5 separate regions of the Homo sapiens genome follow, and all the other regions are linked to region 2. The links are contacts of gene promoters, found by promoter capture Hi-C in human tissues and cell types (Jung and others, 2019). All regions are on one chromosome and are shown on one strand. The core of a region is centred on a gene start or on the middle of the fragment in contact, and the rest is flanking DNA. Distances in the headings are between cores, read along the strand shown.

The links. The method cuts DNA at HindIII sites, captures the fragments that hold promoters and counts their contacts. A contact is called where the count stands out against the background at its distance.
Region 1: a contact is called between a fragment that was not itself captured here and the fragment with the promoter of SP3 in region 2, in 1 of the 25 tissues and cell types used here (heart left ventricle).
Region 3: a contact is called between a fragment that was not itself captured here and the fragment with the promoter of SP3 in region 2, in 1 of the 25 tissues and cell types used here (aorta).
Region 4: a contact is called between a fragment that was not itself captured here and the fragment with the promoter of SP3 in region 2, in 1 of the 25 tissues and cell types used here (psoas muscle).
Region 5: a contact is called between a fragment that was not itself captured here and the fragment with the promoter of SP3 in region 2, in 1 of the 25 tissues and cell types used here (H1 embryonic stem cells).

What each region holds. Positions count from the first base shown.
Region 1 is chr2:173,346,439-173,352,549 of GRCh38, reverse strand. No RefSeq gene overlaps it. Among named protein-coding and RNA genes, the nearest start is that of CDCA7, 5.4 kb to the left of the region's middle. The HindIII fragment of the contact is 3,669 bases long and covers 398-4,066 here.
Region 2 is chr2:173,960,539-173,966,627 of GRCh38, reverse strand. It overlaps SP3 (Sp3 transcription factor), which reads left to right and starts at 1,255. Exons shown (of 7, transcript NM_003111.5): 1 at 1,255-1,463; 2 at 2,075-2,223; 3 at 2,745-2,867. The coding sequence starts at 1,457. RefSeq lists silencers at 1,008-1,077, 1,578-1,857, 2,188-2,677, 2,808-3,057 and enhancers at 1,918-2,740, 2,741-3,564. The HindIII fragment of the contact is 28,349 bases long and covers 1-6,089 here.
Region 3 is chr2:173,162,694-173,168,297 of GRCh38, reverse strand. The region is part of intron 2 of MAP3K20 (mitogen-activated protein kinase kinase kinase 20); the gene reads right to left. Among named protein-coding and RNA genes, the nearest start is that of MAP3K20, 90 kb to the right of the region's middle. The HindIII fragment of the contact is 4,993 bases long and covers 1-4,441 here.
Region 4 is chr2:172,997,278-173,002,717 of GRCh38, reverse strand. RAPGEF4 (Rap guanine nucleotide exchange factor 4) reads right to left here. Exons shown (of 31, transcript NM_007023.4): 17 at 1,374-1,452. Among named protein-coding and RNA genes, the nearest start is that of MAP3K20, 76 kb to the left of the region's middle. The HindIII fragment of the contact is 3,773 bases long and covers 1-3,382 here.
Region 5 is chr2:173,186,015-173,191,886 of GRCh38, reverse strand. It overlaps MAP3K20 (mitogen-activated protein kinase kinase kinase 20), which reads right to left. Exons shown (of 20, transcript NM_016653.3): 5 at 4,264-4,329; 6 at 964-992; 7 at 710-847. Among named protein-coding and RNA genes, the nearest start is that of MAP3K20-AS1, 93 kb to the left of the region's middle. RefSeq lists an enhancer at 1-332. The HindIII fragment of the contact is 5,248 bases long and covers 1-5,125 here.

The sequences.
Region 1 (6,111 bases), core at 983-3,482, 620 kb after region 2:
ATTTCACCTTTTTCATTATTTTTATATCCATAATGGTGATCTGCAATCTGATCTTTGCTATTACTGTTGTAATAATTTTGGAGAGTCACAAATTGTACCCATATAAGATGGCAGACTTCATCAATAAATGTTGTATGTGTTCTGATTGCTCCACTGACCAACCATCCTGTCTCTCTATCCTCATGCCCCCCTATTCACTGAGATAGAACAATATTGAAATTAGGCCAGTTAATAACTCCACAATGGTCTCTGAGTATTGAAATGAAAAGAAGAGTCACATATCTCTCACTTTAAATCAAAAGCTAGAAATGATTACACTTAGTGAGGAAGGCATGTTGAAAGCCGAGATAAGAAGAAAGCTAGACGTCTTGTGCCAAACAACCAAGTTGTGAATGCAAAGGAAAAGTTCCTGAAGGAAATTAAAAGTGCTACTCCAAAGAACACACGAACGATAAGAAAGCAAAACAGGCTTATTGCTGATAGGGAGAAAATTTAAGTGGTCTGGAGAGAAGATCAAACCAGCCACAACATTCCCTTAAGCTAAAACCTAATCTACAGTAAAGCCCTAACTCTCTTCAAACTCTGTGAAGGCTGAGAGAGATGAGGAAACTGCAGAAGAAAAGTTGAAAGCTAGCAGAGGTCAATTCACAAGGTTTAAGATTCACAAGGTTTAAGAGAAAAAGCCATCTCTATTACATGAAAGTACAAGGTGAAGTAGCAAATTATTCAGAAAACCTAGCTAAGCTAATTAATGAAGGTGGCTACACTAAACAAAAGATATTCAAAGTAAACAAAACAGCTTTCTGTTGGAAGAAGATGCCATCCAGGACTTTTATAGCTAGAGAGAAGTCAATGTCTGGCTTTAAAGCTTCAAAGGACAGCCTGACTCTCTTGTTAGGGATGAATGCAGCTGGTAACCTTAAATTGAAGCCATTGATCATTTACCATTCCACGTTCTTAATTCCTTAAGAATTATGCGACACCTATTCTGCCTGTGTTCTATAAACAGAACAACAAAGCCTGAATGAGAGCACATCTGTTTACAGCGTAGTTTGCTGAATATTTTAAGCCCACTCTTGAGACCTGCTCGGAAGAAAAGATTCTTTTCAAAATATTACTGCTCATTGACAGTGCCCCTATTCACCCAAGAGCTCTAATGGAGATTGATGAATGTTTTCATGCCTGGTAACACAGCATCCATTCTGCAGTCCGTGGACCAGGGAGTAATTTTGACTTTAAAGTCTTATTATTTAAGAAATACATTTCATGGCTGGGCACGGTGGCTCATGCCTGTAATCCCAACACTTTGGTAGGCTGAGATGGGCAGATCATGAGGTCAGGAGATGGAGCAAGTAAATAATGCCTGAGGACATGGGCATCCTGGCTAATATGGTGAAACCTTGTCTCCACTAAAAATACAAAAAATTAGCAGGGTGTGGTGGTGGGCGCCTGTAGTCCCAGCTACTCGGGAGGCTGAGGCAGGAGAATGGCGTGAACCCAGAAGGCAGAGCTCGCAGCAAGCCAAGATTGCACCACTGCACTGCAGCCTGGGCAACAGAGTGAGACTCCGTCTCAAAAAAAAAAAAAAAAAAAGAAATACATTTCATAAGTCTGTAGCTGCCATAGATAGTGATTCCTCTGATGGATCTGAACAGAGTCCATTGAAAACCTTCTGAAACGGATTCATCATTCTACATACTATTGAGAAATTTGTGATTCCAGGAGTTTACATTCTAGTAGGAGAGCAGAAGTAAACAACAACAAAAAAATAGTTTCAGGTGTGCTAACTTCCGTGAAGAAAAATAAAAGCAAGGTGAAAGCTAAAGACAGGACAAGGGGAGAGAAAATGAAAGAGGTACAAATTTAAATAAGAGAAACAGAAAAGGCTTCTCTGAGAAGGTGACACCTGAGGAGGAACATGAACAAAGTCAGGAAGGAAGCTACAGGAAGAAGAGGAAAGTGCTGGTTTCAGGCACAGTACACAGCTGGCCCAAAGGCTGTAAGGCAGTGCACAGCAAGGCACACTACAGAAAGCCAGGCAAAGAGGGAGAGAGCCCAGATCATGTGGGACCTTCTTGGCCATGGGAAGAACTTTGGATTTATTCCAGATATGATGGGAAGTCATTGAAGGATTCTGAGAAAAAGAAAGACCCAATCCGACCCCATGAACTGTGTGGGTCGTAAACTGAAGGAGAGCCAAGAGTGAAAGCTGGGAGACCTATGGGCTCCTGGAGAAGCAAATGATGGCTTGGACTGGGATAGTTGTGGGGTCAGATGAAGTCAGATTTAAGATATATGATTATTATAAAAGTTAGAGCTAACTGGACTTGAGGGATGGATGGTTCATTCATATTAGCATTATGTATCATAGTAAAATACTGCAGTCAACATGCCCCTCAGAAGGGAAATGGATACATGAACAGTGGTGTATTTGTACAATGGAATCTGAACAGTAGTTCAAATTAATGGCATAGCTTACTGGCATCATTGTAGAGAAATCTTAACAGTGTTCAATGAAAAAGCAAATAGTAAAAGTGTCTGTAAAGTGTACCCTTTATGCAAATTTTAGAAACACAAAACATACCTAAGTTGGGAGAGTATAAAAACCTAGACAAGCAGAATAGCACAGAAATTAACTTAAGGTGGAAAAGATGGAGGAAAGAGGCAAGGGTGGGTCCTTTGATTCTATTATTAATGCTTTCTTCTTTTCTTTTTCTTTTTTTTTTTTTAAAAAAAGGCTGGGTCTTGCTATGTTGCCCAGGCTGGAGTGCAGTGGTGTGATCATAGCACATTACAGCCTCCAACTTCTGGCCTCAAGTGATCCTCCCACTTCAGCCTCCCACATAGCTGGGACTATGGGTGTACATAACTGCACCCAGCTATCATTAATGCTGTTAAATTAAGTTTAGCCTAAAGCCGCCTCCTTACATATTTTAAGTTCAGCCTAAAGCTTCTCCATACACAATGAACTGTAACCCAACTGGGTATATAAACAGACTAACTTACTCTTGTACCAACCACCATGTTTTGGCCAGTCAAGGGTGACCAACTGTTCAAGCTGTGTTCAAATAAGGCAAACCCTGAGCTGTAACCAATCCAGCTGTTGGTGTAATTCACTTCTGTTTTCTGTACCTCACTTTTTCTGTCCATAAATCTTTTTCCACCATGCAGCTGCTCTGGAGCCTCTCTGAACCTACTCTGGTTCAGGGGATCCCCGATTTGCAAACATTCTTTGCTCCATTAAACTGCTAAATTTAATTTGTCTAAGGTCAGTGCTTTAACAATGCTTTCTTGAAAAATAAAAACCATGGGAAGCAAATATGGCAAATTGTTAAATGTGACAAATGCCAGTGATTAGTACATGGGTGTCTTTTACATGTTTACTTTCTGTGCTTTTTTTTTTCTTTTTTTTTTTTAATCTGAAACATTTAATAATTTTAAAATATTTAAGTTTTGGAGAGTTTGTTCTGACAATCAATATCAATATATTTATTGTGTTAAATATACAGTTCCTTTACAGGGTCCTATAAATAGGAATGCAAGTTTGTCATGCAATTTTAGATGCCTCATAAAGGTTTTAAGTCACTGTATTAATCACACACTGGTAAATATTTTCATTTTAAATGAAAGACACAAAATGAATAAGCATGGAAAATCAGTGTCCAGGGAAAGATGATGGCACAGGCCACAGCAAAAGGTAAAAGGAAATGACATTTTATAAGTACATACTTACACAGACACTACTTGATATGAGGGCTGTTAATACAACAGGTACTCAGTAAATACTTATTATATTTATAAGTATTATTTGTATAATTTAATTTAATTATTTTTTAAGTTCCAGGGTAAATGTGCAGGATGTGATGTGCAGGTTTGTTACACAGGAAAATCTGTGCCATGGGTGGTTTGCTGCACCTAGCAACCCATCACCTAAGTATTAAGTCCTGCATGCATTAGCTATTTTTCCAACTAAAGTGGTTGTAGGTGGAATTTTATTTTATTTTTACATTTTTTCTTTTTTGAGACAGGGTCTCACTCTCACTCAGGCTGGAGTGCAGTGCTCAAGCCATGGCTCACTGCAGCCTCAACTTCCTGCGCTCCAGCAATCCACCTACATCAGCCTCCCAAGTAGCTGGGGCCACAGATGTAGGCCACCACATCTGGCTAATTTTTCTATTTTTTGTAGAGATGGGGGTTTCGTCATGTTGCTCAGACTGGTCTCGAACTCCTGGGCTCAAGCAATCCGCCTGCCCTGGCCCCTCAAAGTGCTGGGATTACAAGCATGAGCCACCATCCCCAGCCCTGGAATTTTAAATCTTCAAAATATTCTAAAATATCAATCTCTTGTTAAAGAGCTTTGAATTCCCTGGGCTACTACAAACCCTAAGAATTCTGTGTTTCTCTATACCTTTTATTCACCTTGCACAAAGAATTCCATTTCCTATTATTAAGTTTGAAACTTGACTGTGAGGTTCAGAGCACTTACATAATGAGGTAAGTTAAACTTCAACTCAGAATGACTGGTTTTCGGACAAAGAATGCAACCGCTAATAGCATGTATCATTTTTAGATGAGATTTAGAAACAATGCTAATGTTTCATGTGCTGCTCTCGGTCCCATGCACCCATCTCTCAGGCGGTATAACATGAACCCAAGCGCCCCTGTAAACCAGAGACCTTCAATAGACCAGATACCCCTGGAGACAAAGGGCTGGAGCAATTTCACTGTGTTTGTGGATATAGACAGTTTGCAGTCTGTCAGGTCACAAATCTCTGTTTTAAATAACCCCTAATTACAGATTTACGTCTCCAGTGCCTGCTTTCAGGATGCATAAAGGCAATATAGCTAAAAGGCCTAACGTTAGGCTTCAATTGTCAAAAGCTGCTCTGTTGGAGGGCCCAGCCCATTATCACCCTGGCTGTTTGGTTCACAAATGCTGGCTCTCCAAGCCATATTGGTATGTTTGTTTTGCATTGTATGTCAACACTGTTTTAAGTAGATCAGTTTGCTGACATCTGACACCTGATTAGAAAAAGGAATATGGAAAAATGAGTGCAAATCTGACCTTTTTTTGGCAAGAAGAAATATTTGTTTTTCCGTGGATGAACATTGTCTATTGTGAAATATATTAACTGCTAGTGTTAAAACATCATTAAACACTTTGCACAAGGGAAAGTCAAGCTTTGATTACTGAATCAGTCAGTTCCAACACTATGGAAGCTGAATTACAGCCAAAACCTAACTCAGCTTACTTCTTACCATCCACAGTTTCCCTGTCACTTGTTCACCTTTCCATAATTTCTTTTTTCCATTTGGCAAAGTTTTTGTCTGTTTTTATGTAAGAATTTTTCATTGTTTTTAATTTGATCATTTTTTTCTCTGGAAACACCCATAAAAGGTGTTAAATGTCTTTGTTCATCACTTAGGCAACTTATTCTAAATTGTCCTAGTTGTGAATTATATAAATCATTTATGTCTTCTTCAGATCTGTTCCTTTCAAGCAACTCTTTGGAAAGAGAATTGCTGCAGAGAGAAGAACTTTATTAACTAAATGGAGACTTAGGGCTCATTTGTAGGTGGTTTAATTTCTGAAGTAAACCAATGCAAGATATTGGTAGGGGGTCCCAGGGAAGAGGCTAATCTGCACATTGTCCTATCAACCTAGAATTCAAAATTAGTCCCCCAGCAGGCCTCAAAAGTTAAACACAGGGCCAGGCCCAGTGGCTCACGCCTGTAATCCCAACACTTTGGGAGGCTGAGGTGGGCGGATCACCTGAGGTCAAGAGTTCCAGACCAGCCTGGCCAACATGGTGAAACCCCATCTCTACTAAAAATACAAAAAATTAGCTGGGCGTGGTGGCAGGCATCTGTAATCCCAGCTACTCAGGAGGCTGAGGCAAGAGAACCACTTAAACCCAGAAGGCAGAGGTTGCAATGAGCTGAGATAGCACCACTACACTCCAAGTCCAACCTTGGAGACAGAGCGAGACCCTGTCTAAAAAAAATAAAATAAAATAATAAAATAAAATTTCGATCCTTTGAACATGGATAAAACTTAAAAATATTATGCTGAGTGAAATAAGCCAAGCACAAAAGGATAAATATTGCCTT
Region 2 (6,089 bases), core at 6-2,505:
CAGTAATGGGAAAACTGAATCTTGAGCCAGATTTCTAAAAAACAGGTATTGTGGACAGTGTTTCCACCTCTTGAATTTAACTTCTTTCTTGGCAACTATACTTGAAGGTAACAGGGAGAGATGTCTCTTAGTTGGCAAAACACACACTTAAAACCTGAGCATTTTCCCCCAGGATGACAGCAAGATACCAAGGATGCCAAAGAAGGAAGGAGTGTTAACCTAATCCAGTAAGAGAAACAAGATTTTAAAATACAACAAAAATGTTCCAATGGGGGAAAAAAGGTAGTTCACCGGTTCACGACTTTAAAAAACGTTGGCAGTGGTTGATGGGCTTATTTCAGGAGATATCTGACTTGGTACCAAGAGGATAAAGAGGCCGGGAATAATACGTTTGTGCAGCAAAATGGTTATGTGACCGATTTTTTAAAACACAGAATTCTGCCCCACTGAATACATACACATACCACAAGTAAAATGAAATATACTTTTAAGTGCCCGTTTTGGTGCCACTGGCCAAAATTAAAACTCTCCTTCCGTATGTGAGGTGACTTGAGATTTCTTTTTTGCTTTAAATGCCTGCCTTCAGGGTACGTGAAAGTGGGAGACCGGTTGGAAAACTGGGGCTAAGGGGGCTGGGAGCGAGATGGCTGTGACTGAATCAGGAAGCTGGATGTGAGAGAGAAAAATCCTCCTCCAGCCTCGGAGGGGGTGTCTCCCCTAATACCAGCTCCCTCCCCCCGGGCTCGTGGGGCGGGTCTGGTTTGCTCAGTAGCGGCAGCGGCCGCAGCAGCAGCCCCGGGGCTGAGCAGCGGTGGCCTCCTGGCAGCGCAGGGAAGCGGCGGCTCCAAGAGCGCGAGGCCCTGGGGAGATCCGGCCAAGACTGCTGCCGGGATGGAGGAAGCGTCCAGTGGAGCAGGAGTCACCGGGGACGAATTTCCTCCCCAGCTCAGCTCCCCTACAGCTTGGCTAGGCCTGCTCCGAGCGCCTGCAAGGTGGAGGAGGCCTGCGCCTCGGGCCTGGCAGCGGCAGCCGGCGAGGGAGGCGGGCACAGCGGGGTAACCGGCGAGCCGTAGCCGCTCTCGAAAACCTACGCTGCCACGGCCGCTCATTGTCTCTCCCCTTCCACCCGGGGGCAAACAGGAAGCGCGCCGCCTGGCAGACCGACGGACAGGCGCCTGGACCAATGAGCACAGCCGACAAAGAGCACGGCGGCGAATGAGAGCCAAGAAGAGGGGCGGGAGTTCCGGGCGGGCTGTCACCCTCTTCCCCCCTTTTGGGCTGGAGGCTCCACCTTTTGTGTTTCCCGCACAGTCAATCAAAATAGGAAAAAAAAATCCCCGGACCGCTCCGGCCGTGTCCGCCGCCGCTTCCCGCATCCTCTCCCGCCGCCGCCGCCTTCGCTCCTCACCATGTGTAAGGCGGCGGGGAGCCCCGCCTGAGGTGCCCTAAACACACTATGACCGGTACGTAAAGCCGAGAGAGCAACCCTTGCTGCTGCCGCCGCCGCCGCTGCCGCCGACCACAGCCAGCCCGGGGCCGCTGCCGCCGGTCTCGGCCCCGTGTGTGCGACCGAGTGTCTGTGAGAGGCAGAAAGCTGCACTCCCCTGCGCCTCCCTCCCCTCCCCGCCAGCCACCGTCCACCCCCGAAGCCCCAGCAACGCCGTCTCCCCGCCAGGCCCCGGGGCGGGCGGCCCGGTCCGCCGGGAGCGCATCCCCCTGTGTGCGGGCGCGGGCGGGCGTGTGTGAGTGACTGACGGTGCGAGAGGAGCGAGCGCGAGTGAGAGCGAGCGGCGCGAAGGGAAAGGGGAGGAGAGGAGAGGGGGCAGGGGCAGCGCGGGGAGGAGGAGGAGGAGGGAAAGAGGAGGAGGAGGAGGGTTACAGGCAGCGGCGGGCGGGGGCAGCAGCAGGAGGGGAGGAGGGAGCCGCCGCCGCCGCCGCCGCCGGGGGGCGGGTGGGGGAGGGGAAGGGGCCTGGGTCCGGGCTTTGGGAGTAATTTCGCTTCGGCCCGCGGGCCCCCTCCCTCTCCGCCACCCGCCTTCCTCCCCACCCCCACCCCCCCGCGCTGTGCCTGCAGCTCCCGAAAAGCCCGTGAAACAAGAGGAAATGGCTGCCTTGGACGTGGATAGCGGCGGCGGCGGTGGCGGCGGCGGCGGCCACGGCGAGTATCTGCAGCAGCAGCAACAGCACGGAAACGGTGCGGTGGCGGCGGCAGCGGCGGCCCAGGTGAGGAGCGGCTGAACCCCGGCCCGGCTCCCCCCTCGCGCCGCTTTCTCCTCCCCTCGCCTCTCCCCTCCCTCCTCGCCTCACCCCTCCCTCCTCGTCTCTCCCCTCCCCTCCACTCCCCTCCCCCCGCCCCGGGAGCTGCCCGCCCGAGGCGCCAACGCTCCGACCCCGCCCGCGCCGCCCCGCCTCGCCCGCCTGCCGCCTTTTTGTGCGCGTGTGAGTGTGGGCCCCAGCGTGCCCTCCCGGGGGTGGGTTCCGGGCGGAAGGCGGAGGCCCGGCGCGCAGCCCGCCGCCCGCCTGCCCGCGGACCGGGGAGCCGGGGTGCTTGGAGCGGGGGACGCCAGGCGTGGGCTGGCGGCGGGACCAGGAGGAGGAGGAGGAGGAGGAGGAGAGCGCGGGCTGGCGCTTGCCCGGGCGCAGTCGGCGGGGACCGAGTCGTACTTCCTGTGCGAAAGGCGGCCCGACCCTAACCGCCACCCCCTCCCCCTGTCTCCCTCTCTGAACCCGCCCATTGGGGGTAGGACACTCAGCCGTCACCGCTCGCTCTGCTGGCCGCTACCTGCAGCAAGATAGGGCCGCCATCGCCGGGCGACGACGAGGAGGAGGCGGCCGCCGCAGCCGGGGCCCCCGCCGCCGCCGGAGCGGTAAGTCCCGCGCGCGGCCCGCCCCCGCCGAGGCCGGGCGCCCGCCATCCCGGACCCGTGGCGCGCCTGCCCAAAAGGCCTCCCCGGCGCCCGCGCTTCCCCCGACCCGCACGGGCCGCTGGGCTCCAGGGCGCCCTTTCCTGCTCTTTCGCATCCCGGTTTGGATCTGAAGCCAGCCCAGGCTTTCTCGAAATTGTCACTGCAGCACCTCGCGCAAAATCTTCACAAAATGAAGTCTGAGAGGGCGGGGGTAGAGGACTCCAAAATGGATGTTTGAGCAATTCATATCAGTGCTGAAAACTCCTTCGCTTAACACTACAAAATTTTCAAGCACAGCCTATCGGCCATAGATAGTATCAACTAGAGGCAATGTCTTTAGTTTTTATTATTTTTGAACCTGGAGCATTTTCTGTTGGACGTTACAGGATCTTACTGCTTTAAATCATACATTATTAAAAAAAATGAGGGTTTATTCTTTGAATTACCCTTTTGTATGCAGGAGTGAAGACTGCTTTTTTAGTTGACCATTCAAAATCGTTGAATTTTAGTTTTTGCAGACTACTAAAATTTGCAGTGACTTTTTTTTTGTAAGGGGGGTAAATGAAACATTTAGCAGCCTTTGAAATCAGCAAGTTGCTTAGATAGTACTTTAGATTTTGAAACTGAATATAACAGTGTTAGAAAAGTATGTGTAAGGAATTGTATTTACGTGCATACTAGTAGTACAATACTTATAGCTGAATTTGGTTGGCAAAAGTATGTTTTCATTTTATTACGACTGCTAGTCAGGTAAGATATGGTGGGATTCTTTCTGTAGTGTTTTCAGTGTCTGGGCAAGGGGAGGAGCTCGCCTGTGTTATATGAGGGGTTAATACCAATAGGATAGGAACAGTTTTTAGACTGTTAATTGTGAATTTTACATTTGGGTCATCACTGTTGTGTAGATTTGTTCACCTATTAAAATAATGAAAACCCTCATTTGAGTGTGTGTGTGTGGTGGATCATAGGAATTGATTTGTGGAGTGATACTTTCAATAGTCACTGAAGACAGAAGTTTGGTATTTGGTATAGTCTACAACAAATGCTTAGTATGTCCAGGTATTTTTTTTTTTTAAGTTAAACCAATGTTAAGCTATTACTGGTAAATAATTTGTAATTTTAGTGCTTCGTTATAGGGGATGTGAATAGTTTTAATGTCTTGTTTTTTCATAAGCAGATTAACATGTAAAAATGTAAAATTATATTAGGCTTTGTTATTTTTAAATACATTTATGGATTGGTACGCCTTCTGTTCACCTCATTTCAGCTTCGCTGAGAGTTGGTAGATTTTTTTATGAACTGTATCCCTCTAGTTCCAAAGTGCCAAAACAAATTGACTGTATCTTAAAAAACTACTGCATAAGTAAAATTAAAAAGCAGATTGCTTCTCCTGATCTTTTTTGTATTTCAAATGGAACAAAACTTTTCTTGTAACTGTAATTTGTAAAGTTTAGATATCAGTTTACAGATGGGGGAGGGGAGAAGGAAGGAAATATGGGTGAATAATATGTGTATGTACATACATATGTGAGTCTGAGGCCCAAGGATAGAATACTGTCTCCAACCTTAGCCAGCTGTGGCCATATACTTGTAGGGAAGTTTCCATGCTTCTTCAGCTGCTTTTCTGAATTACCAAATCACTCCTGACAACACATATTCTGCCACATGAAGACGAACTAGAATCAATCTGATAAATCTGAGATTTATCAATCAAATACATCATAATTTGCCAATCATAGTAAAATGAAAATAGTTTTGCCTAAAAAAAAAAAAAAAAAAAAAAAAACCCAAACCATATATTTATGATGTCTGGTACCTGCACCCAAGATTTTTCACTTTGAGTAAAATTGGTAAGACTGGCTTGTGTGTATTTGCCTTAGCAAATAGAAAATTTGCTAAAAATTTATTTTTCCAGTGCAAATATGAACTTAAGACATCTTTTCAGCACATCTTAGAAAAGGAAATTCACATGAGTTCATGGGCTTAGATAATCTTTTATTACTCAAATGACTGGGAATTATGAGAGGTTATAGCTGTGTTTTTAAATAATTGTATTTTGGAATAATTTTAAATTTATAGAAAAGTTGGAAATACAGAACTGAGTAATCTCATACCCTTCATCCAGCTTCCCCTAATGTTAGGATAATGATGATACATTTGTCCAAATTAAGACATGAACATTGGTATGACATTACTAACCAGACTTTGTTTGCGTTTCACCAGCTTTTCCACTAATGTCCATTTTCTCTTCTGGGATCCAGTCCAGGATTCCACATTGCATATATATTGTTGTGTTTAAACAAGTGGAAATATACACATACAGATGAACTTTATGCCAGTTTAGCTTGGTATTTTGAGATTAAAAGGGCCTTGAAAAGCCAATCAACTGTGCTGAAGATTGCTTTTAATATTTGGATTTTGAATTTGGAATTTGTCATAAAAGAGGATCCTAGCCAAGGGTGTTTGGTTACCCACAGTACATTGCTGAAGAAGTCTAGTCATAAAGCAGTCTCGTATATAATGTCGTACAACATGGACTCTGAAAGATGGTTTTATAGCAACGCTCCTTTGTACTTAAGTTGTGGCTAATTTTAGTAGTAAACCAGGAAATAGAAAAAAGTAGACCTTTGTGCAAGTATTAACTTTGACCAGTTTGCATTTATGTGAACTTGTGGATTATTAATTTACTTCATTTTTACTTTAGTGGAATAAAATAAGTGACTTTTATTTTTATTTTTATTTTTTTGAGACAGAGTCTCACTCTGTCGCCCAGACTGGAGTGCAGTGGCGCGATCTCGGCTCACTGCAGGCTCTGCTTCCTGGGTTCACAGCATTCTCCTGCCTCAGCCTCCCGAGTAACTGGGACGACAGGCGTGTGCCACCATGCCCGGCTAATTTTTTTTTTTTGTATTTTTAGTGGAGACAGGGTTTCACCGTGTTAGCCAGGATGGTCTCGATCTCCTGACCTCATGATCTGCCCACCTTGGCCTCCCAAAGTGCTGGGATTACAGGCGTAAGCCACTGCGCCTGGCCTAAAATAAGTGACTATTATGAAAGTGATTGCTTGATCTTTGGTTTAGGTTGTAAATTTAGTGTTCCTTAATTTGGCACATAAATGTTGAGCTAAAAAATAAGTAATAGCTTACTTCAAAAAAGTTATTTTGCCATTATTTAAAATAAGAC
Region 3 (5,604 bases), core at 696-3,195, 800 kb after region 2:
AATTCCTTAATACTTATTGAGTGCCTCGTGTGTATAGAGGGGTCTGTGTTCATCAAGCAACCTTCTTCTCATAGTTTAGTTTCTCAACTAGGAAGAAGATGTATTATTTGTGCAACACAACTATTCATCCACATGGCAACCCTACTTCTTACTATAATAATAAATAATAATAAAGTTTATTTATTATTATTAGAAATAAAGTTTATTTATTATTATTAGAAATAATAAATAAAGTTTTTTGTAAAAATAGAATGTATGTGCAGTTTGGAAATCACAAAGCCCCCATTTTAAGTGGTAGGACCAACTGTTTGTGAATAAAGCATTAAAGTTCAATGTGAGTAAAGCAATAGAGTTAATGTTTGAACCAGTATTTGTCAAACTGAGGCAGTGTTATCCTTCGGAATATTCTTTGGGGCACCTGAATTTTGTGATCATTAAAGATTTTTCTATCAATAAAGAATAAATACAAGTATATTCTGAGTCCTTGGATGACCACTTTACAATGCAGCATGATGGGATTTTCAGTGTGCCAGCTAGTTTCCATGTTTATATTTAAGATATTGCCAAGTGATATCTTGAGGAGATAGGATTGATCATTTCAGGTGCCGGTAAGCATGTCTAACAGCTGTTAGGCTGGCAAATGCTAATGTCAAAATAACAATCATTATCCTCTATCCCCTTGTTGTGCTCATATTTTTTGCAAAAAAATTTGCAGTTTTATTTCCAAGTAAATGACATTTTCATGAAATAAGATTTTAGGTTCTTATATAATAAACTAAGAATCTGATTTAACATAATAAAAACAACATGTTATTTTAGAGTGCTGTACTGATTTCATGGAAATGGGCCAACAGTAAACAGAGGCAGACTGAATAAGTAAGTGATATGTTTGTAATAAATGAAGGTCAAATGACATCATGATGTCAGCAATTCAAATAAGCTCCAATAAAAACAAGTGTGAGGTTAACCAAATTATTAAAACCTGTGTTGTTGCAATCACCCTCTGACAGCAAGCAGATATACTCTCTGGATTTTGCCTTTATAGGCACCTGCTTGCAAGAGCTCATTAAAAAAAAAACTGTTGGCCGGGCGCAGTGGCTCACGCCTGTAATCCCAGCACTTTGGGAGGCCGAGGCGGGTGGATCACGAGGTCAGGAGGTCGAGACCATCCTGGCTAATATGGTGAAACCCCGTCTCTACTAAAAATACAAAAAAAAATTAGCCGGGCGTGGTAGCGGGCGCCTGTAGTCCCAGCTACTCGGGAGGTTGAGGCAGGAGAATGGCGTGAACCCGGGAGGCGGAGCTTGCAGTGAGCCAAGATAGCGCCACTGCAGTCCAGCCTGGGCGAAAGAGCGAGACTCCGTCTCAAAAAAAAAAAAAAAAAAAACAGAAAAACTGTTGCAATAAATGTGTAGTAAATAATTTGTCACTGAATTGCTGTTTTTCCTTTGTTTTCCAGATTTATATTCTGGGATAATCTAGCAAATGAGCTGCGCATCAAAATAATGGATTAGTGGTTTAAAAACGTGTTCACTGTTAAAAGGAAAACATGAAAATGATGAAAGCTAAAATAATGGTCCATCATACAAAAGTATATCTTTTTACACTATTAAAACCAACATAAGCCATTTATTTTCAGTAAATATAATTGGATAACAATCGTTAATTTAAACTGTATTGATTTTATTTTTGTTTAATTGAAAAATTGGTTTTGAATTTACCTGTATATGAGAGTTATAAGGAGTTAATTCTTAGTTTTATGTTTATGTATATTTAAGTTACACAGAAATAATTTCAGTCAACATGTGAAATCTGGAAGACTAAAATTTTCTATATAAAAGATCTACACATTTCTCAGTGTGCAAAATGCTTTTCTAGGGAGTCAAACAGATACTTGGACCCAATGTCCAAAGCAGCATTATTCACAATAAACAAAAGGTAAAAACAACCAAAGTGTTTATCAACTGACAGATAAAATGTGAGGCTATATATAAAAACAATGAAACATTATTTCTGCTGTAAATAGGAATTAAGTTTGGATATGCACTGCATCATGAATGGGCCTTGAAAATATTACGCTAAGTAAAATATGCCAGGCACAAAAGGGCAGATACTGTATGATTCTACTTATATGAACTATCTTGAACAGACACATTCAGCAATAAAGAAAGCAGATTAGAGGTTGTAACCAGGGGCTGATGGGAGGAGAAAATGAGGAGTTATTGCTTAATGGGTACAGCGTTTCTGTTTGGGGTGATGAAAATTTTTGTAAACAGACAGTGGTGATGGGTGCACAACACTGTGACTATAATAAATGCCACTGGCCAGGCACGGGGACTCATGCCTGTAATCCTAGCATTTTGGGAGGCTGAGGCAGGAGAAGAGAAGCACTTGAACTCAGGAGTTTGAGATCAGCTTGGGCAACATAGTGAGACCTTGTCTCTACTAAAAATAAAAAATTAGCCAGGTGTTCTGGCACATGCCTGTGGTCCCAGCTACTCAGGAGGCTGAGGCAGTAGGATGGCTTGAGCCCAGGAGGTCAAAGCTGCAGTGAGTTGTGACTGTGCCACTGCATTCCAGCCTGGGCAACAGAGTGAGACCCTGTCTAAATAAACAAATAAATCCACTGAATTATACACTTAATTACGCTGAAATAGCAAATTTTATGCTATGCATATTTTACCACAATACAAAAGTTTAAAAAATGGTATTCTAAATTTTTGCAGAGATGAGTGATCAGAGTCTATGTATTCAATAGTCATCTTAAAGTTATACAAACTACGGTCTAAGTATCCATAAGATAAACATGTAATTTTCCAAACTAGGACTTGGAGGATCTAAGAAAAGACTGGGACAGACTGCAACAATATATATACATTTTTAGACAGAGTCTCACTCTGTCGCCCAGGCTGGAGTACAGTGGTGCAATCTCCACTCACTGCAACATCTGCATCCCAGGTTCAAGCAATTCTCCTGCCTCAGCCTCCTGAGTACCTGGAATTACAGGCACGCACCACTACACCCAGCTAATTTTTGTATTTTTTTTTTTTCAGTAGAGACAGGGTTTCACCATGTTGGCCAGGCTGGTCTCGAACTCCTGATCTCAGATGATCCACCTGCCTTGGCCTCCCAAAGTGCCAATTTTAACTCAGGCTCTAAGATTCTCCATAAAATAAAGGGCCCCAATCTGAGATATAAACGGAGGAATCAAGGTCTATTCATAAAAATGTCTAATAGTCATGTCCTATTAGGGTACCAAAATGTCTCTACAGATTATTGTTTGCCTGCTCTTATTGTTTCCAGCTGGGGCCAGTTCCTTTCTCCTTTCCTCTTTCCTTTATCAGAAAAATTACAGAAGTTTTAGTTTGTTGATTAACCTGGGAGGTCGTGAGTATTTTGTTGTTTGTTTTATCGGCATTTCTATAAGTTTACAGGGGAAAACGAGCCATTAGCTCAGTTTGCCATGTTTCCAGACATCGACTAACACACAGGTTCCAAACGACTGATTCAGAGATATTAAAAGAAGTTAAATATCATAGTTTTAATTATCTTCCTTTGAAGTATTTCCAACAGTTAAAAAATATCTCCATCTTCAGAAGGACTCTTTTCCTTCAATTCAAAACTTTTTTTCAACCTAATCCCAAATTTTATTTTGTTTATTTAATTTTGGAGAGCTGCCATAGACTCCTTAAAAGATTCTGTGTCTTTAAAGCTTGTTTTGCAAACATCGACAAATGGGACTAATTAAACTGAAGAGCTTGTGCACAGCAAAAGAAACTGTCAACAGAGTAAACAGTCTACAGAATGGGAGAAAATATTTGCAAACTATGCATCTCACACAGGTCTAATGTCCAGAATCTATAAGGAACTTAAAAAAGTTTACAAGCAAAAAACAACCCCATTAAAAAGTAGGCAAAGAACATGCATAGACACTTTTCAAAAGAAGACATACATGCGGCCAACAAGCATATGGAAAAATGCCCAACATCTCTAATCATTAGAGAAATGGAAATCAAAACCACAATGAGATACCATCTCACACCAGTTAGAATGGCTATTATTAAAAAATCCCAGCACTTTGGGAGGCCGAGGCGGGCAGATCACAAGGGCAGGAGTTGGAGACCAGCCTGGCCAACATGGTGAAAACCTGTTTCTGCTAAAAATACAACAATTAGCTGGGCATGGTGGCACACACCTGTAATCCCAGCTACTCCAGAGGCTGAGGCAGGAGAATCGTTTAAACCTGGGAGGCGGAGGTTGCAGTGAGCCGAGATTGCACCACTGCACTCCAGCCTCGCGACAGAGCTAGACTCCGTCTCAGAAAAAAAAAAAAAAGTCAAGAAATAACAGATGCTGGTAAAGTTGTACAGAAAAGGGAATGCTCATACACTGCTGGTGGGAATGTAAATTAGTTTAGCCATTATGAAAGGCAGTTTGGAGATTTCTCAAAGAACTTAAAACAGAACTAGCATTCAATCCAGCAATTCTATTACTTATATTCCATACTTACATTCCATTACTGGGTAATGGAATATAATGGGGGAAACCCAAGGGAATATAAATCATTCTACCATAAAGACACATGTTCGTCCCAGCACTATTCACAATAGCAAAGACATGGAATCAACCTAAATGCCCATCAAAGGTAGACTGGATAAAGAAAATGTGGTACATACATACCATGGAATACTATGCAGCCATAAAAAAGAACAAGATCATGTCCTTTGCAGAAACATGGATGGAGCTAGGAATACCATGCAGCCATAAAAAAGAACAAGATTGTGTCATTTGCAGTAACATGGATGGAGCTAGGAATATTATGCAGCCATAAAAAAGAACAAGATTATGTCCTTTGCAGAAACATGGATGGAGCTGGAGGCCATTATCCTAAGTGAGCAAAGGCAGGAACAGAAAACCAGATACAACATATTCTCACTTAAAAGTAGGAGCTAAACACTAAGTACACATGGACACAAAGTAGGAAACAATAGACACAGGGATCTACTTGAAGGTGGAGGGTGGGAGGAGGGTGAGGATTGAAAAACTACCTATAGGGTACTATGCTTATTACCTGGGTGATAAAATAATCTGTACAACTAACTGCCCATGACACACAATTTACCCATGTTACAAACCTGCACACGTACCCCTAAACCTAAAAGTTAAAAAGCTTGTTTTACACCTTTTGTATTCCATTTATGTACTCTATATGTATTTGTGATAAATATTGTAAAAATAAAATTGAGTTCACTTATTTTTGTGAAAGAAAGCAAAGATACCAACAACAACCTGTTGATGGGTATAGAATGAAAGCAATCGTTTATGAAGCCCCACATCATAAGGCTGGCAGGTTCCACTTACATCTTATACTCAGAACAGGCTTTTCTCTCTGATTGTCAACAGCTACTTCCCTCCACCTAGCAGCAAGATTGTGTCTCAGCGGGGTCCATGCTTCTGCATGTGATGTGGCACTGACACAAGGTACACTTCTTTTGCCCATGAATGTCAATTACTCCTTCAAGTCCTCTAGTGTGTGTGGTATTTAAGCATATAACTACTCCACGGACCCTGATCTCTAAGGTCCTCACCAATTTTTTTTTTTTT
Region 4 (5,440 bases), core at 247-2,746, 960 kb after region 2:
TGAGTGAACAAGAAAATGAGAATCAGGTAGGGTAATTATAATCTTGAATGAGGAAAACATGCCAACATTCACTGAATTCCTAAAAAAAAAAAAAAAGAAAGAATAAAAGAGTCATTCTCCTTCAATATATTTAACTGCTCAAAAGGGCCAAAGTGATTTGGGGTCTAAATTTTTGTTGTTCTAAAAATAAAACAAAATCTTAGAATATACTTTCACATGCTCCCAAAATTGAGTGTGAAGCTTATTAATAATACCCACTTCTTTTATTCCACTCCCATTTTCTGAGAATGTTTGCTCTGTGCTACATACCAGCATCAACTGGGCCATTCCAAACACTGTTGAAAAGCTGTCCCAAATAAACTTGGCCTTCAAGCTATAGAGAGGAATTGTCACTGGAGTTTCAAATTTTGGGTCTTTAAGTCAGTAAGATGATAATAAAAAGTAGTAACAAAGAAAGAAATTTTGGTATCTAGAGGAGAGGATAGACGAGGATGAATGGGAAAAGAAAGTTATCCTACAGTGATAACTTGTATTTATCTCAGCAGCTTAGCAATTTAATACCATAGCTCGGAGGAGGAACACAAGCCGACCACAGTCCACCCTGCCAGGGAACAGTCTGTCTCTGAGGTTAGGGAACCATTCCTGCTAATACTCCCAGGTTCTTCTCCATAACCCTTTCTAGCCTGCCTCCCAGGCAATGGATTTTTTTTTTTTTTTTTTTTTTGCCAGCATCACCTTCCTGTGGTAAGCTGGTTCACACTTCTCTGCACAGATAATGGTACAGTTTGGATGTTTGTCCCTGCCCATATCTCATGTTGAAATGTAATCCTCAATGCTGGAGGTGGGCCTGGTGGGAGGTGTTTGGTTCATGGGGGTGGACCCCTCGTGTCTTGGTGCTGTCCTTGAGATAGTGAATTCTCATGAGATCTGGTCGTTTAAAAGTGTTTGCCACCTCCCCCACCTCGCTCCTGCTCCCCCTTCACCTTCAGCCACAATTGTAACTTCCCCAAGTCCTCCCCAGAAACAGAGGCTGGCACGATACTTCCTAGCAGAACTGCCAGTCAATTAAACCTCTTTTCTTATAAATTACCCAGCCTCGGGTATTTCTTTATAGCAATGAAAGAATGGCCCAATACAGGTAACAAGGAGGAAATCCTTAAACATGGCACAGCAGACCTCTGCCAGGCAGAGCTAGAGTCTGTACAGGGGAAAACTGTGGGAAATGTGGGAAAACACATTTCAGTGTGATGAGGGTGGAATGCACAACTCTGCCTGGGCCATGACTTACCTGCAGAAGATGAGATAAGAATGGCCCTCGATAGGGGGGGTTGTCTTCGAGGGAATAGGGACTTACAATCACAATAAAAGGATATTGGGCCACCAGTGCCGGGCAAAGCTGGGTATTTGGCATAAAAACACAGTGCATCATAATAAAGTCATTTAAAACAGAATCTGGAAGGGGAAAAAAACAGAAAAGGAAATTAGGTTCTTGTGGAAATCTTTAGGAAAGCAAGAGTATCCATTCACTTGTTCTTAGTCATTGGTTCTAACACATTGGTTTGGGGCATGAGTTTACTTTACATGGAAGCACTTCATATAAATAATGGTGTTGACAGAGATTGAGATGAAAATCAGTTTCTTATGACAATGGACAAAAAGTATAATATTTTAAAGAGAGACAGCCTTGTACAAACGGCACTGGGTACCTTAGCCACCAAAGATTTTAAAATCTGTGTACTTAAAGGGTCACATGTGGGCAGTACCATACATGCAGAACGAAGACATGGTCGTTTCTTTGTCTATACCGTATTTGTTTTTTCAAAATCCTTTCTCTTTTATGTCTTTTTCACCTCCTATTTCCAAAAGAAGCAATGAAAGGTAGGAGGACAATAGAATTACAGAATCAGGACGTGGTAAGAGCAGAGAATTGGTGAGGGGAGAAAGAAGCAGCAAAAAAAAAAAAAAAAGAAAGAAAGAAAAGAAAGAAAGAAAACAAGATTAAGGCTGTGAGCAGCAACTAGAGCAAAACAAAGGCTAACAAAACAGAAGCTGGTGGATTCAAATGGTGACTGTCCTATATGTGAAACTATTTTGTAGGTAAGGAAGCAGGGGGTTGGCAAGGGAAGTAAGGCAGGTCCCCCAAATAAGCTTCATTTACTTCATCATTGAATTTGATGCTGGTTCTTCATTGCAGACAACATGCCCTGGCTAGCCAGATGGGAAAGCTCATGAAGGCAAACCTAAAAACCTCAGGACTATGCCCATCAGAACTTGGAACCCAAGATGCCATGACATTTCCCGGGAAAACATGAAATACACTGTCTGAGATTGTGACGCTCATCTTAAATGGAAAATGGTGAGAAATACGTACATTTTAATGCTATAAATTAGATTGCCAAATGTTGTCCATGTTTTTAATGAAATTTTATTGGTGAAGTCTGAGTCAGTTACTAAAGGTTTAACCATTATACATAGTCATTTAAATATAACTGATGAGTGTAATACCAAGCTGTCACAACTCAATGTCACCAGGTCTTCAGTCCCGTTATACTGAGCCAGAGAAGAAGCAGAGAAGGTGTCAGACAGAGGCTGCAAGAAAATATTTTTTTTAATGTACCAAAGGATTTTGGCTTGCCTGAGCTTAACATCTAGCACCATCTTGATATGTTTTATATATTCTTGAGAACAGAGTAGGTAATACTTGCTTATATGCACCCAGGAGGCTGTAATATCCAGTAGTTTAAAGTTTGCTAAAGCAGAGACTTGACTTGGGTGCTCCAAGGCTGGGGAGGGAGTCAGTTAACATGGCCAACCACTCAGCTCACATTTCAGTGTGGCTTTCCGGCTCTCTCCTCACATGTAGCAACTCTTCTGTCTGGCACCTTCTCTGCTTCTCAGTATAATGAGACTGAAGGTGACTGGTGACACTGAGTGATGACAGCTTGGGATTACACTCATCACTTATATTTAAATGAGAATCATGGTTAAACATTTAGTCACTGATTCAGACTTTGCCAATGTAAGTTCATCAAAAACATGAACACTGGAAATCTAATTTATAGGTTAAAATTTGCTTAAGAACTAATTTAAAACATCACTTCCTACTAGAAGATGATTTACCAAGTCACTCCATGACTAATGCTGGTTTTAAAAGTAAAAATATAAGAACTAATAGGTCTCAGGTAGAAAACAGATTTTTGGTAAATTAAGAGAGTGTAATGTCAAATTCAGCAGTGTGCATTTTTATGATGTAAACAACTTTCACGGTAACTCTGACCTTTCTTACTGTACTGTAAATCTATAACTGCCAAAGGTCTCCTACTCTGGTATATCCACAAATTTCGTGGACCTACCCTAGGATTATTTAGTGTCCAGGACAGGAGGGAGGCACATTTGTATTTCTGATTTATGAGAAAGATACTGGTTTGTTCTTTATCTCCAAGGCATAAACATTACTTGTAGGAAAAAAATATCAGGAAAAACTGCAGGAAATGAAGTTCAATATTAAATTATGATGTTAGCCTAGTCTCTACCATCAAAAATGGAAGGGTCAAGAATCACATCCCACACGCCAGCCTTAGAATACACTGATTTCTAGGCTTTAATTTTTTTGATGAAGAAGAAATAATCAGGCTACTCTTGGCACACTGCCCATGGGTTAGCCCTGCTCTGCAAGGAACAGTAATTAAAAAAACAAAACTAAACAAAAGAAGCAGAAGCAGCAGCAATAATCCAATCTCCATCTCTTTTAGAGGTGACTTGAAAGGAAGGCTATACTTGCCCTTCATGGGTGGTAAAGATCTTATAGCTCATTCCTTAGATGCCACAGTCTCTAATGTACCAGAATATATATTTTTTTGAGTCAATATATACCTTAGGTAAGATGCTGATTCTTGCATTATGCAATCACACATTCTGGGCAAACAGTTAATCAGAGGGAAAAAATCAGCTGCATTTTTTCCTGACCCATGGTCCTGGAAATTTGGTTTATTTGAGGTTACATATGGCTCTTGGTAGCTATCCTCACATAACCGGTTCTTCAACAGTTTCTCTATACTAAATATGGAGTAACTTTTCTCCAGCATAGTTCTTATCATGTTCTTCTTGCTCAGACATCTTCAACCACTTCCCAGTGCTTGGCTCTACCTTTTTGTTGTTGTTGTGCAAGCTGGAGTGCAGTGGCATGATCATAGCTCACTGTAGCCTCAAACTCCTGGGCTCCAGTGATCCTCCCGCCTTGGCCCCCAAAGTGCTGGGATTACAGGCATGAGCCACTGCACCCAGCCGGCTTTACATTTAAGACTCTCTAAGATCTATACCCCAATTCTTAAACCTTTCCTTCGTTTTCCAACTTACGTATACAATAGTCCAGTAAAAATCCGACCACTCACTCTTCCCTGTCTATTTCTAGGTCAGTGCTAATATTATCCCTTAGTATGGATGGCTTTGTCCCTATCTCTAATTACTGGTTACCAGCCTCCTTCAGGGCCACTCTATATTTTCCATGATACTTTTCTAGATCCCTCACCTAGTCAGTGTCCCTGAAGCACTAACCACATTCTGCCTTATATTCAAGTTATGTGCACATTCCTTTATGTCTTCTAACAGATTATAAGCTTCCTGAAGGCAGGAGAATGATTCCTTGTTCACATTGCCTAGTCCAAAGCATCTAGCTTAGTGTCTGCCCAACAAGATACTCAACAAATATTGACCTGAGAATAATTGGCCTGGAGCCAGTGATCCTGACGATTATATCTACTATACCCTAATTAATTTGCTACATAAAAAACCTCAGGTAATCTATGTATAAAATGAGAAACTGGAATGAGAAGATAAAATAAGAATTCAGTGGTAAAATACCTTTAGGAGGTATATAATAATAATAATGATATCTTCAACTTGAATATATAGCAAAGGTCAATTATGGAAATGGATTTTGAACTAAGTTTTTGAGATAAATCTCTGAACTTCTTTTAGTGAGAAAGGCTCTTCTATGGAGCTCAATGTGCTTAAAATATTAACCCACAACATTATTCTGAGAGACAGGCAGTAGCATAGGATTAAAAAAAAAACACGTTGCGTGTGGGCTGTTGCAAAGTCATATACAAGATGGTAACCAAAGTGGAACACAATTTTATAACTCTGAACACTTAGTTCACTGGTGAGATTTGTTTTATTCACCCTAGAATTTCTGTGTCTTAGGTAACAAGACTGACTCACTGTAAGCAGATGTTATGTGTTGAATTGTATCCCCCCAAAAAGATATGTTGAAGAACTAACCTCCAGTATCTCAGAATATAATCGTCTTTGGAAATAGGGTCTTTGCAGATGTGGTCAAGTTAAGGTGAGGTCCTTAATGAGGGCCTTAATCCAATATGACTGCCATCCTTATAAAAAGGGGTAACCTTGGACCCAGAGACAGACAGGCACAGAGGGAAGG
Region 5 (5,872 bases), core at 1,252-3,751, 780 kb after region 2:
GGCCCATCTCCAAATTCCTCCTCCAGGAGCTTCTGCTCCTTAACGGATTCATTCCTGTGGTCTCTTCCTTGAGCACTCCACCCCCTCATTAGTCTATTCTCTATGTGGCTCTGCTGTGATTCTTATGTAATGCCTTAGAGTCACGCTTCAGATAGTCACTGCTACTCTAAGACTGGCAGCAGACATGGACAAGGTCATCTGGTAAGTGCTAAGTACATTTTCTTTTGGACTTTTAGAAACCGATGAATCAGTTTAATAGTTGAGACTCAAAAGTTTCCTGGTAATTAACTCGCTTGGCAGATCTATTGGTGATTTTATACTGTTTAAGCAATCCATTACAATGAAGTCCTGTTCCAAATGATCCACATTTCCATTGAAATTACAGAGAGAGTCCACAGTCACATTACCACCCTGCAAAAAATCATTCTCACAGGCAAAGCGGAGCCCAACACTATCTCGGATTCCATTTAATTTGTTTCTTGGAAGTGGTGTTGGTTTCTTCTCAACACAGGACAAAATAACTCCGATGATTAAAAATGATTAAACATTTTGGCAACTAGGAAGCGTTCTCCAATGGTGCTGCTTTAGGCATTCCACCAGCAGTACAGTCTCAAATAAAAATAAAACCATGTTAAACTGTATCTCTCTTCTTTTGAGTGTTTGCTTTTTGTATTTCCCTTAGTAAACAAGAAATGAGAAATGAACTCACCACACCATAGGAATATGTGTCACAAGTTTCTGACACAGGGAGACTCTGGATAACTTCTGGAGCCATCCATGGGAAAGTTCCAACCAAGGACATGTGTGTTGTATGGTTATGGAACCGAGAGGCACCAAAGTCACAGATCTGAGAAAACAGGAATCAGTGTCAACTTTCTACTTATTGGCTAATTAAGGGATTATCAGTTACAAAAATCTACATCTGAAATTAACAATTTTTTTAAGTAAAAGAAATAGTCCTACCTTCAATACTCCATCAGCAGCTATAACAACTAAAAAAAGAAAAAAGGATAAATTATGACAATCATCTAATTTGTTTGAGCTGTCTTCTACTGAAAAAAACCATAAACTTCTATTTCTGTCTTCAATATGGGATTATGAAAGGTGAAATCAATGTATTTACAGCATTGAGGATTTTGCAAAAGGGGGCTGACATTAAAACAAAAACTTAATTCCATTAGGTACTGATTAAAAAGGCTTCTGAGACACTTGTTTTATCCAAATGCAGTACTGTCCAGTAAGAAAGGCACAAATTAGTAGTAGTTAGGAGAACCAAATTTTTACCTGGGTTCTGCCCATGTACTGCCAATGTGATACTGAGGTAGTCATTAGCTTTACTACTTCATATTATATATATGGTTTCCTCCCAACTGAGTGATTTTTGTTAAAGGTGGAGAGAATATTCATTCATTCACTTGTTCATACATTCATTCATTTAATAAATATTTGCTGAGGCTACTGTGGGTAACGCCATGTATAATGCTGTGGAACAGGACTGTAAGCAAGTCTGCCACTGTCTTTGCTCTCAGGGGGTTTATATTCTTATCAGAGAGACAATTAAATAAACATCTACAACAAACTGGGATAGATTCCATGATGAGAGAAACAATACTATAGAGCCAAAGAACAATGATATCTGTGTCGAGGGCGGTCAGATGAAGTTTCCTGTAAGAAATGATGCTTATGCTAAAACCTGAAAAACACAGGAGTTAACCAGGAAGAGGAGAGCTGAGGGAGGAAAGTAGTTTCCTAGGCAGAAGAGAGAGCCTATGCAAAAACTCAGGAGCAGACAAAAAATGTATGGCAATTTTGGAAGGTAGGTGCCAGGTCAAGAAGAGAAAGAGAAAGCCAATGAACAATTTTATGTGGAGGGATGAAATGAGCAAAGGTGCAGAGGGGAGACTATGTCAGAGAAGAATAGACCTGGAGGCAAGGGCATCACTTGGCACTCAAGGTTTTGTGGTCCAGGAGACAGATGAGGACATCTGTACTAAGGCAGTGGCAAAGGACAGGAGAAAAGTTGACCGAGTCAAAAAATATTTAGGATGTAGGATCACCTAGGCTTAATGAATGGCTGGATATTGGGGGAGAAGGAAGCGAACTCAAGGATAAAATCAGATAAAGAAGCAATACAGATTAATGGTTAGAATAGGAGCTCTGGCTTTAAACTGTAACTACTATTTATCTCATTTCTGGCTTGGGCAAACAGTATTGCCACTCAGTAAAAGAAATGCAGGGATGATTTTTCGGGGTTAGGGAGAAAATGAAAAGATTAATTTGGACATAATATATTTTAGTGTCTTAAAAAATATCTATGTGGATGTGTCTAATCAGCAGATAGAAAAATAGTTTTGAAGTTGAGATCTGTTTTTGAGTGTTAATATGTAAATAGGGCTTTTATGGGAGTGCAAGACTCAGAGCATAAGAGGAGATGAGTCCAAGGATAAAGTTCTGAAGAACTGTTTCAGATGTTTCTTTTGTAAACCGTGCAGTGCCTTGAACATGATAGATGATCAATACTTACTAGTTACTGATGATTTTACCAAGGAGGGAAAATGATCTTTGTATGATCTAATATTTGAAAATAGCCTCAGGGTAAACCTGGTACTATAAGTAATAAGCTACAAACTTTTACAAATAGAAATGTAAATATTATTAATTTTATATTCAGCTTTCTCATTATAAGATTAACAAGTGCTCACTAGAAAAACTGCCATTATAAAAATACATAACATAGAAAGTGAAACTCTGGTTACCTTTCCAAGGGAAAAAGAATTGCTATAAGTTAGGTCTATATTCTTTCAATATCAGTGTATGTGTGTTCCTATTTAGTAACTATAATACATATAACTGTAACTTTTTAAAATGGGGACACTCTCCATTGTTATATAGTCTTCATAATGATAGCAGGGAAAAATCCATAATTTAGTTAATCATTCCTCTTTTGTAGAAGATTTAAGATATACTGAAGTCAAATAACATAGTTAAATTGAAATTCTGAGCATGAACTGAAAATTTACAAATTCATAAAACTCTGATCTTTTCTACTACAGCCTAGATTATTTCCTAATGACTTCCTGTTAGCTGACCATATATCAAAAGTGCTTAGTTCCAGGAAGCTTAAGTCTAAGAAGAACCAAAGAATACATGATAACCTAGAAGAGGAAAGGACAATCAGACAGGGTTAAATTGGTGGTCCAACCTGGACTACTGATAAGTGGCAGGTGCTGATAACTTCCCTCCCCGCCCCCATCCCTTCACCCCCTGCTAAACACACACACACTCACACACACAAACCTCACAGTCCTGAGGCACGTGCAAGGGTACCTGATCGATTCATTCCCTGGTTCTCTTCCACTACTTGTCATCACCACCCATTCTAAGGATCACACTATTAGCATATACTCGTTTTAATTAAAGATCTCCTAAAAATAGATAGTTCGCTTCCTCCTTACTGAGAAGGAGCATTTAGAAAGCATGTAAATAATTAATTGATTGGAGGGTATTCAGAAAAGTGGCAAACTCTGATGTTTACTTTAGCTAGTGCTATAATGCTACTGCCTTTCTCAGATAACTCTGAAGTGATGTAACAGAAGAAGCATTCTGTTACCACTCCTACTTGAAGGTAATGTCTAATCCTGCAAGTTATTTTAAAATGCTCACCCTCCAAATTATAAGATACAGGGCCATAAATAAGCTTTAGAAAGTACAGAAGAAGAGAAAGAAGAAAAAGAGAGCCTTTACTTTCCAAACTTCCAATCATGTGGCTCATTTCTGGGCACTACTCCAGGTAATACAGGCATGACTGGCATCAACAATTCACACCACGCAATTCAGATGCAACAAGAACAAAATTCAAAATTGATAGTGCACAAAGCCACCTAAAAATAGAAGACTAAAAATATATGACTGCATACTTTGACACAGCAGTATCTCTTTTAGAAAATGATTCTAGGGAAATAATTAGGGATGTCTTGAAAAATTTGGCTGAAATATTAAGCCCAACATTTCTTATCAGAGAAAAAATGTAAACAATTCAAATGTCCACATTCTGGGCTATATTTATACAGTGAAATACTATGCAGCTTCTTTAAATAATATTGAGATTTTTGTTATTTATTGACAGTAGAAAGGCTTCCATGGTATCAGCAGTGAGTCCAATAGTAGGTTACAAAAGATATGTAAAAGAATGATGCTCATTTCTACATGCAAGTGTATGTAATTTGTAATAAAATAGGTAAAATAAAAACATAACTACATTACCGTTTCTTGACTTGAGGTCTCTGTGAATCACCTTGACAGGAGCCTCCATATGTAAATAATGCATTCCTTTTCACACAAGAAGAAATAAAGGCCTATTAATATTTTTCAACATTACATCAGTATTACCTTTCATAGTTTTTCAAAGAACTCAAGAGCAGAAACTAATTCACATGTCTTATTCTTCCATGACTGATAAAATGAAAACAGAATATGTCTACATTAGTAACATGTATATGTGAAGTCAAATTTATAAGCTTTAATCTCTTAGAGGTTGGAATTTGACTGTGGGTAAATCTAGCTTCTTACAATACCTAATAAGGACACCTTAATTTTCTGCAGTCTGCATGAAAATAGCACAGTAACCACTGAAAGGAGGGCTCCACGACTAAGGTATTCCGCTACCAACTACCTTCTAAATCTGCCAAAGTTCTGAGTAAAATTTGTGGTTTTCATCTGGTTGTCTGCAGGTACCCAACTGCAGATTCTGATGTCCAGTTACCGAAGTTCTGGATGTCTATGGTTACCTGGCTGCAGCTTGGCTTTTTCTCAGTACCCATTCCAACAAGACCTGGGAGTGGATGTGGGGTAGTGGTGGGGAGAACTGGGAGGACTGATTAGTTACGGTTGGTAAATAATTTTATGATCTTCAGATAAAAAAGTATACAGTAGTTACAAAGTATTTCATTCCTTTTACAAGGATAAATCTTTGAGATAATCTGTATTTCAACATACTCCAAAATTCTTTCCATCATATTTATAGAGCTTTATTATTTTGAATATAAAATTATACTTTAAAGACACATTTTATGGTTACCACCTTAGTAGTTTTTGACTCTTTCTGTATTTACGTATTGTCTACCCCTTTAGAATAAAAAAAGGATGATTTTCTACTAAAATATATCCTCTTTATTTCTCAAGTTGTTTTTTCTAACTAATGGCAGAAATAGCCTCCCCCTCACCTCCAAATCAAATAGGCTTCTTTTTAAAATGAACAATGCATTGAAAATAATTTAATAAGAGGCTTAGGCTTTTTAAAGCATATAGAGAGGTTAATTTTTAAATCTTTATTCTTCTATTTTAATTATGATATATTGAAGAATCATGAAAGGACAAAGAAAATTTAAACTCTTGCCTTTTAATGATATCACTGAATGATATCACTGAAGAGTCAAGTTAACACAAGTATTAGTAATTATGTGATCTTAAATAAGATGTAACTGGGATAAAGGAAATTTCTCTTCTGATAAGAAGTTCTACATCCCTCAAACTGCAAAAATTCAATAGTTACAACTTGGGTAGCATTTAATAATCTATATGACTGGATTTCATAGTTACCTCTCTCTTGCTTTAGAATCAAATTCCTGAATAATTTTTCAGGTAGAATCTGTATAATTACTATTACTGGTAGAGATAGTTTCTACACTTGCTGACAAGTAAGGATTTCAAAAAACAAGACTCAAATACAAAAGCTTTAAATATAGGCACTTTCCTTCCTCATGGAAGATTATAAGAAAAAAGTACCATAAAGTATTAGTGTACGATGCATAGTATACATTTAAATAATATTTCATATAAACAATAGTCATCACACACACATAAAATTCTATTT